Linked DNA regions of Homo sapiens: all the other regions are linked to region 1. The links are contacts of gene promoters, found by promoter capture Hi-C in human tissues and cell types (Jung and others, 2019). All regions are on one chromosome and are shown on one strand. Each heading gives the region's core, a stretch centred on a gene start or on the middle of the fragment in contact. The rest is flanking DNA. Distances are from core to core; before and after follow the strand shown. Region 1 holds the start of KIF6 (kinesin family member 6). Region 2 has its middle 32 kb from the start of DAAM2. Region 3 overlaps KIF6 (kinesin family member 6).

Region 1 (2,762 bases), core at 105-2,604:
GGCAATAGTAATAGAACCATACGGTAGTTAGCTTTCGAGTCTGGCTTCTTTCATGAAACATAATTCCCCGAAAATTCAACCAATTTGTTACGTGTATCAACACTTCCTTCCTTCTTAATTGCTGAATGGTATTCCAGTTATTTTAAACTATCAGCTGAAGAACATCTGGGTTTTTTTTCCAGTTTGGGGCTATTACAAATAAAGGTGCTAAAACTATAAACACACATGCGCAGGTTTTTGTGTGAACACACGTTTTCATTCATCTGAGATAAATGCCCAAGAGTGCAATTGCTGTGTCTTAGAGTAGTTGCACCTTTAGTTTTGTAAGAAACTGTCAAACTATTTTCCAGAGTGGCTGTACCTTTATACAGTGTATGTTTTACATTATACATTCCTACCAGTAAAGTGCAACTGATTCAGTTTCTCCACATCTTTGCTAGCATCTGGTGTTGCCACTTTTTTTTTTTTTTTTTTTTTTTAAGCCATTCTGATAGATGAATAGTGATGCCTCATTGTGGTTTTAACTTATATTTCCCACGTGGATAATAATGTTGACTATCTTTTCATGTGCTAACAGTGTTTGAAGAGCTCATCCTTTCTTGCCGTGACCATTGTGTGGGAAACAGTCCCCTTCATCCAGTTTTATCCTTTTCCAAAACAGAGCTAGCCCCACTTCTAATTCCATCATGGCATAGTTTGTATTCCTTGGTTTTGATTTCCTGTTGAAAATCTGTCTCCTTGTCACTTGAGAGACCTTGTGAAGGAAAAAAAAAATCTGTCTCCTTCTTCAGACTGTGATCTCCAAGTGGGCTGGAGCAGTTCTGCAATCTTGGCTCACTACAGCTTCGACCTCCCGGGCTCAAGCGATCCTCCTGCCTCAACCTCCCGAGTAGCTGGGATACAGGCGCGCCACCACGCTTGGCTAACTTTTGTATTTTTTGTAGAGACGGAGTCTCACTATGCTGCCCAGGCTGGTCTCAAATTCCTGGGCTCTAAGCGATCCTACCACCTCGGCTTCCCAAAAACTGCTGGGATTACAAGCATGAGCCACCACGCCCGGCCCAGTGCTGTATTTTTTTTTAAAGGCAAGGGCATGGAGAATAAAATGGGTGAATGAGCGGGGCGGGGCAAGGCATGGTGGTTGTTCCCCTTTAACCACACGGTCCAGGCCGGGTCCGGCGCTAAACCCAGAGCCCAGACACTCGCTCATGCGCATGCGCAGCGCTCTCCTCTCCACCCCCGCCCTCCCCTCCCTAGCCCCGCCCCGTAGTGGCCTCCTTCCGGTCGCGACCAATTAGAGGGAGGAGGCGGGATCCTGGCTGCCAAGGTGCTCACTGGGTAGTGTCCCTAGCTACTGTTGCTAAGACTGTGGGTCGCCGGAGGTGGTGGGAGTTAGTTTTGGCAGCCCGGGCCTGAGAGAGGTCAAGGGTCATTGCAGAGCCAGGGAGGAGATGGTGAAGCAGACTATCCAGATATTCGCGAGGGTGAAGCCCCCTGTCCGGAAGCACCAACAAGGGGTACGGGCTGGAGCCTCCGGGGCGCCGGCGCGGCGGGGCCTCTTGGGCTGGGGTCGGGCGGCGGCACGCGAAGGGGCTGGGCGGAGGTGAGGGGCTTGCTGGTGGGCGCCGAGGCCGCCCGGAATCCCGCACACACTGACCGAGGAGCCCTGCAGCCGCGAAGACCCCCGCGCACTGCTGTCAGCTACGCGACCGACAGCCAGGCCACTCCTACCTGGCACAGCGCAGACCCGGCAGAGAGCCATTTTTTTTGCACCCAGGCACACGTGTTCACGCGGGGGCAGACTAGTGCATGTTCAGTATGCCTGTATAGTGTGCGCTTCAACTACACATAAGCACTTATTGCACCTTTCTGGGAAACTCACGCAGCACCGCACATGCAGATACACTCAAAGGTACATTTTGGCACTCGGGCAAAACGTGCAAGCAAGAGATGCGTGTTTATGTACCTCTGAAATAATACAAATATAGATAGACACAAATGCACAAAGCATACACATATGTAGTACTTTGCACCCAGTGGGGCCTCAGTAATTAGTTGACTGTTGTTATTCTCCAACATAAACGTGAACCTTTACATATACTCCTTGTATTAATAGATATAGGTAGATGCTTAAGCATCCTGACCCAAAGAATACGCATGTGTACTTCATTCAGAAACAATTAACTAAATATTTACCAGGTGCTTCCTCTAGTGTGCTAAATTCAGAAAGGTATAAAGAAGGTTAAGACATTGCCCTGACTCTGAGCAATGATACTTTGTATGCACCTTTTTTTTTTTTTTTTTTTTTTGAGACGGAGTCTCGCTCTGCCACCCAGACTGAAGTGCAGTGGCGCGATCTCGGCTCACTGCAAGCTCTGCCTCTTGGATTCACGCCATTCTCCTGCCTCAACCTCTCAAGTAGCTGGGACTACAGGTGCCCGCCACCACGCCCGGTTAATTTTTTGTGGTTTTAGAAGAGACCGGGTTTCACCCTGTTAGCTAGGATGGTCTCGATCTCCTCCTGATCTTGTGATCCGCCCGCCTCGGCCTCCCAAAGTGCTGGGATTACAGGCGTGAGCCACCGCGCCCAGCACTTTTTATGCTTCTTAAATATTTCAAAACATCCTCTCTTCTGCCTAGAAGGGAGCATAGTCATTCTTATGTATCTTGAGAAATGGCCACCTGACAGGTGCTTTATCTGCATTATCTCTCATTCTCACAAGAACCCTGCAAGGTTGGTGTCATTTTCCGCATTTTACAGA
Region 2 (2,779 bases), core at 216-2,715, 35 kb before region 1:
ATGGAATAGTATGCAGCCATAAAAGGAATGAGATCATGTCCTTTGCAAGGACATGGATGAAGCTAGAAGCCATCATCCTCAGCAAACTAACACAGGAACAGAAAACCAAACACTACATGTTCACATTCATAAGTGGGAGGTGAACATTGTGAACACCTGGACACAGACAGGGGAACAACACACACCAGGGCCTGTTTTGGGATGGGGGTTGATGAGAGAGAACTTAGAGGACGGGTCGATAGGTGCAGCAAACCACCATGGCACACATATACCTATGTAACAAACCTGCACGTTCTGCACATGTATCCCATTTTTTTAAGAAGAAATAAAGAAAAAAAAAGAAAGAAAGAAAATCATGTGTCCTAAGTGCCACAAATTCTCTATGTAGAGGTAAGAGACCTATAAATAATTTTAATATGAATAGAAAAAAAAAAAACAGAAAAAGACTACTCAAGTGAGACCAAGCAAAGTCTTGCTCATCCAGAGCTTGCTATCACAAGGAAGTAGCCACCATCACTTGCATTTCACAGAGACTCAAAAGCAGGCAAAGAAGTGAGAAGTATACCTACAGTCAGGGAATTTAAAAAAAGAATGCTTTAGGGATGGTCTGACTGGAAGCTGTTGGCATGGGGAAGCTCTAAGGTTAATTAGAACCTGGGCATCCTATGTGATTGATTAAAGGTGCGTATTTGACTTTCTTAAAAAAAAAAAGTGGCATTCTTTCTATCACTGCAGGTATAACCTCTTCTTTCTGTACAGAGGACACAGGATCAGTTCTGGCTAAGTATTCTAGGAACTGGCAGTCTACTCTTGTGGTTATTACTACATCCCGGTTATCTAGTGGCTGGAATTTTTCCTCAAGGGATGTCTTGGCAACTACATTCAGAATTCCATTCTATTCTTCCAGAAATAATTTTTCCCCAAAGTACAGACTCATGTTTAAATAAATTAATAATATAATTTGTATGATTTATTTTACCTTTGAACACTAGTTGCTTATCTAGCAGATTTTTAGCATTATTCTGAGTGCCAAAAGGTTTTAGTTACATTTCTATTTCTGTTTTAACTTGGAGGAGTGCACCATCACACTTGAAAAATGGCAAAAAGGTCATGAACTGCCTGTTACTATCTTTGCATAATCCTGCCCTTCGCCTTCACAAAGCTCTCAAGGACTTTCCAATCCATTTTGGGGGACTAACTTTCTCTGAAGTTTAAGATCTGTAAGAAGTAAATTTTGATTTGCAACCTCTGTTACCTAACCTTAACCCATACCAAATCCCTTGCAAACTAAGAAAGAAAGAACAATTCTAAATTAGGCATCATTTTGGCAACTACTTTAGGAAATGTTCTGATTTTTTTAAATGAAATTTATACCAATTAGTTTATACGTTCTTTTGAAATTTGGACACATCAAAGCCCAAAAAAATTAGGCTGTTTAAAAAGATTATTTTACCATGACTACTGTTTTGATGGTATTACTTACTGTACTGTTTCAAAGTTCATTCTGAAAACACTTTAATAGCATGTTTATAGGGGCCAGATGTGCTCAACATTGAGGCAGAGGGCAAGGATTCCAAATCAGGTTGATGAAATCAAAGCCAAACTGTGGGGAAATAATTGGCTTTATTGAACTGGCATGTATATCTATCAGTATTTGAAAATGACCCTGAAACTCTGATAACACCCCCAGACTGTAGGAGTGAATGACAAGACAGTACAAGAGTAAGGAGTGAAAAGTCCTGTGCATCACAATCTAATAGTTCCATGAAGACCTCCAAAGTGAAGATAGGCTATTTGACTTATGGGACTGGCAGTTTTGGAATCCTTTTAGGTTTTGGAACTCTGCTCTCCTAGAGAAACAGCTGGGCTTATCTGGGCTCTGTAGGTGGGTTAGCTCAGTGAGCCAAAACAATGCTAATGAAACAAGGTGAGACACCCATTTATTCGGCCCCTATGATGTGCCAGGAGTTTTTATGTATATCATCTCATTTAAGCTTCACAATAGCCCAAAAAGGTATAATAAATTCAGAAATTAGGAAACAGAACCTCAGAGAACTGAAATAATTTGCCCAAGGGCATTCATTCCTCCAGTAAGTGAGATAGCCTGGGACTTGAACTCTGATCTGATGACTCAGAAACTCTTTCCTATACACATCAGAGACTCTCTGAAGCCAAGATCAAAGACTGTTAGCTTGCTCCTGTAACAACCACAGACCCCACTCCTAATACTGGCAGATAGCTGCTGAATGGATGCTCTGAGTAATGGAGATTAGACAGAAAAATGTGAATGGGTAACAAAAAACTCACCTAGCTATGAGCAGATGGTGGATCTTGCTCACTTCTGTATCCTATCCCTACCCCCACAAACACATGCACACTGCACTAGACCCTAGCGTAATATCTGGCAAGTGCTCAAGATCTTTCTTGAATTAGATCTGTCACTAGTAAGAATGATAATGATAATAACAGCAACAATCATAAGAGTTAAAATGTCATGAGCAATTTACTACATCATAGGCACTGTCTTACACACTCAGTAACCATCAACTCTTTGGGTCCCCGTAGCATCAGGTGACAGAGGCACTGTTCATTATTGCACTTTGCAGGGAAGAAAGTAAAGCACAGAAATGTTAGCTAATTTCTCCAAAGTGACATAGCAAGCGAGGGTCAGAATCTAAAAGAAAACATAATCAAGCTGGCTTTATGTACCCAGGTTCTTAACCATTCTACTAGTATCTTTCAAATACATCTGATCCTGAGGCACTTGTTAGAAACACTT
Region 3 (3,077 bases), core at 376-2,875, 45 kb after region 1:
TAAATCTCCAAATGAAGGATTTCACAGAATGTATCACTATTGTTTAGCGATGCATAACAGTACTTATGCTTTCTGATCTTTTTCTTGTTTATTTATTATCTGTCTCCCCGATTCATACATAAGTTCCATGAGAACATGGTTCTTTTCTGTCTTCTTATTACTGCATTCCTAGCAGTGAGACCAGTGCCTGACACATGATATGTAGTAAGTATTCATAAATATCTGTGGAATGAGTAAGTTGACAGAATTCAGTATTTCCCCCGATGAGCATTTTTTTTCTCTGAAAGAAAAAAATGGTGAATTTTCCAAACTCTACATACCCCTGTAGTTCTTCCTACATTCATCATTCCCTAAGATGTGCTTTTCTTTGGATTTGTACATAATGCCAATACAGTTAAAATCCCATTACAGTGAATTCCACGGGGCATGCTATTGGCTTTGTTATAGCGGAATTTGTCACAGGGCCAGAAATTGCATTTCCAGTCCACAGAAACTAAGGATGAAACTGCTTATTGTCCATTTCTCCGTGGAATTGGGAAGGGAAGAGTTCTGACTCTGAAATGAGAAGTGAGATCTATCTAGTGAACCTCCTGCCTCTTCTCTAGCCTCCCTGATATTTTACATGGAATGTTGGCTTTGGGTTTTTTGTTTGTTTCTGGCTGAAGGATTTGAGTATTGAAAGAAGTAGGGGTAGTTGAGGAAGAGAAAAAAATTAAAAGGCAATTATGATTTGTTGACAAGAAAAGATTCTAGAGTTTTTTTTTAAAACATTAAGGTAAATAGTATTCTCTCCTACTTTTTGTAGCATAAAAAGCTACATCCTCAGGTGCTGTTTTTATACATGAAAATATACATGAACAAGGGCCAGAAAATGAAACAAAACAAAACAGAATACAGTTCCTATAGTGAACTATTTGGTGTTGGCAGTTTGTTGTAAATAGAGAAGTGAAGGTCTTTTTGTTTTTGCTTTTAATTGGGTATTCTTCTGAAATATGGAAACAGCTTGGTTATATTATGAAGATCTTTCCTTCATTGTAATGGTCATTGTGTTCAAATCGGATCATCAAAATTTTGCCTTAATGTTATAGTATAAAAATGTCTTGAGTTATTTTTTATTTTATTTTATTTTATTTTATGTATTTATTTGCCCAGATTCAACTTCTCAGCATTGAATTACTTTTTGAAGTCATTTATTAAGAACTTTTATTGGCTTTCTCAGACAGACACATTTATTCCCTCTTCCTTGTACCCAAAGTACTTGATACATGGCCTTTATCATATTGTAATTGTATTTATCTGCCTGTGTCCTGTACACTGACCATACTAAAGACAAGCACTGTGTTTTATTCACTTTTGCATTCCCCACCTGCAGTCCTTCTTCTATTCCCTATTTTACCTAATAAAATGGGACAAAAAGGGTTTTAAATACATGTTTATGGAATGGTAGCACCACTTCTGTAGCTACCTTAGCTTATTGCCTTACTTTTATAACCACTTACTACATCTTCTACTGGCCTTTTTAGCAAAGCTGCTGGCTTAATGACCACCTATTTCTAGTCTTTGTCAAGTTGTCAGAGTAGCATGGGGTATTTGTTTCACTGCCTGTTAAACTGCATTCTCTCTCTTTTAGTTCTTAGATTAAGGTCTTCATTGATAAGCCCATCATGTCTCCCTCTACTATCTATCTGTGAGAAAGGTAGCTGACCCATTTCCCTTCTACAGTTTCATATATGCATTAGTGAATTTTCTGTTGGTGTTCTCCTGTTTACTGTATTGAACTCTAAGTTGTTTGAAGGCCTATCTAAACCAGTCAGTGCATAGTCACTGAAAGCCAGAGCTATGATGGGTACAGCAGGAATTACTGACAAATATTAAAGTGCCATGTCTGCTCTTAAGAAGCTGATAGTTTTCTGAATTAAAAACTAATTATACACCCGGGCATGGTGGCTCATGCCTGTAGTCCCAGCACTTTGGGAGGCTGAGGTGGGCGGGTCACTTGAGGTCAGGAGTTCAAAACCAGCCTGGCCAACATGGCGAAACTTTGTGTCTACTAAAATTACAAAAATTAGCCAGGTGTGGTGGTGTGCCGCTGTAATCCCAGCTACTTGGGAGGCTGAGGCATGAGAATTGCTCAACCCGGGAAGTGGAGGTTGCAGTGAGCTGAGATCACGCCACTGCACTCCAGCCTGGGCAACAGCATGAGACCCTGCCTCAAAATAAACAAACAAAAAAACTAACTATACTTGTTTTATTTGAGATGCCAGAACTTTTAAGATATACTGTTAGGTTATAACAGCTTCCATGTAAGAAAAGAAACCCTGCCAGCCAGGCATGGTGGCTCACGCCTGTAATCCCAGCACTTTGGGAGGCTGAGGTGGGCGGATCACGAGGTCAGGAGATTGAGACCATCCTGGCTAACACGGTGAAACCCCTTCTCTACTAAAAAAATACAAAAAATTAGCCGGGCATGGTGGCATGCACCTGTAGTCCCAGCTACTCGGGAGGCTGAGGCAAGAGAATTGCTTGAACCCAGGAGGTGGAGGTTACAGTGAGCCGAGATTGCACCACTGCACTCCAGCCTGGGCAGCAGAGTGAGACTCCGCCTCAAAAAAAAAAAAAAAAAAAGAAAAGAAAAGAAACCCTGCCATGTATTATCTATGCATTGATTATAAGGCTGATCTCCAATTCAGAAACATGGACATTCTGGATAGCATTCCATGGAGAGAGAATGACATGTTCAAAAGCCAAAGGGAATTTCAGAAGAAGCCAAAGGATCTAAAATTCTACTGGACAGATGACTCCTCTGTTAACTTTTCTTCCGTCTTCCTTGCCCTGTCCCCCACCGTTCCATTTCTAGGTATCTCACCCCTGGTGGTAAGGTAAGCATCAGTGAGGATAATACCGCCCTAATGCATCCCTTAAAAATGATATGATGTAAGCAGATTAACTGGACTCTTTAAAAAGAGACTGAGATATCATAAATTTGGCCATGTGAATTCATGTATCAGTACACACAGCACTGTTTTCCACACAAGTAGGTACAGTTAGTACCAATTAAATGATGGCTTCCTTTTGTC

Evidence for each region. The method cuts DNA at HindIII sites, captures the fragments that hold promoters and counts their contacts. A contact is called where the count stands out against the background at its distance.
Region 2: a contact is called between a fragment that was not itself captured here and the fragment with the promoter of KIF6 in region 1, in 1 of the 25 tissues and cell types used here (psoas muscle).
Region 3: a contact is called between a fragment that was not itself captured here and the fragment with the promoter of KIF6 in region 1, in 1 of the 25 tissues and cell types used here (hippocampus).

Annotation. Positions count from the first base shown.
Region 1 is chr6:39,724,000-39,726,761 of GRCh38, reverse strand. It overlaps KIF6 (kinesin family member 6), which reads left to right and starts at 1,354. Exons shown (of 23, transcript NM_145027.6): 1 at 1,354-1,517. The coding sequence starts at 1,452. RefSeq lists silencers at 1,114-1,313, 1,020-1,351, 1,564-1,633. The HindIII fragment of the contact is 25,522 bases long and covers 1-2,762 here.
Region 2 is chr6:39,758,783-39,761,561 of GRCh38, reverse strand. No RefSeq gene overlaps it. Among named protein-coding and RNA genes, the nearest start is that of DAAM2, 32 kb to the left of the region's middle. The HindIII fragment of the contact is 4,847 bases long and covers 1-2,779 here.
Region 3 is chr6:39,679,163-39,682,239 of GRCh38, reverse strand. All of the region lies in intron 3 of KIF6 (kinesin family member 6), which reads left to right. Among named protein-coding and RNA genes, the nearest start is that of KIF6, 45 kb to the left of the region's middle. The HindIII fragment of the contact is 9,076 bases long and covers 1-3,077 here.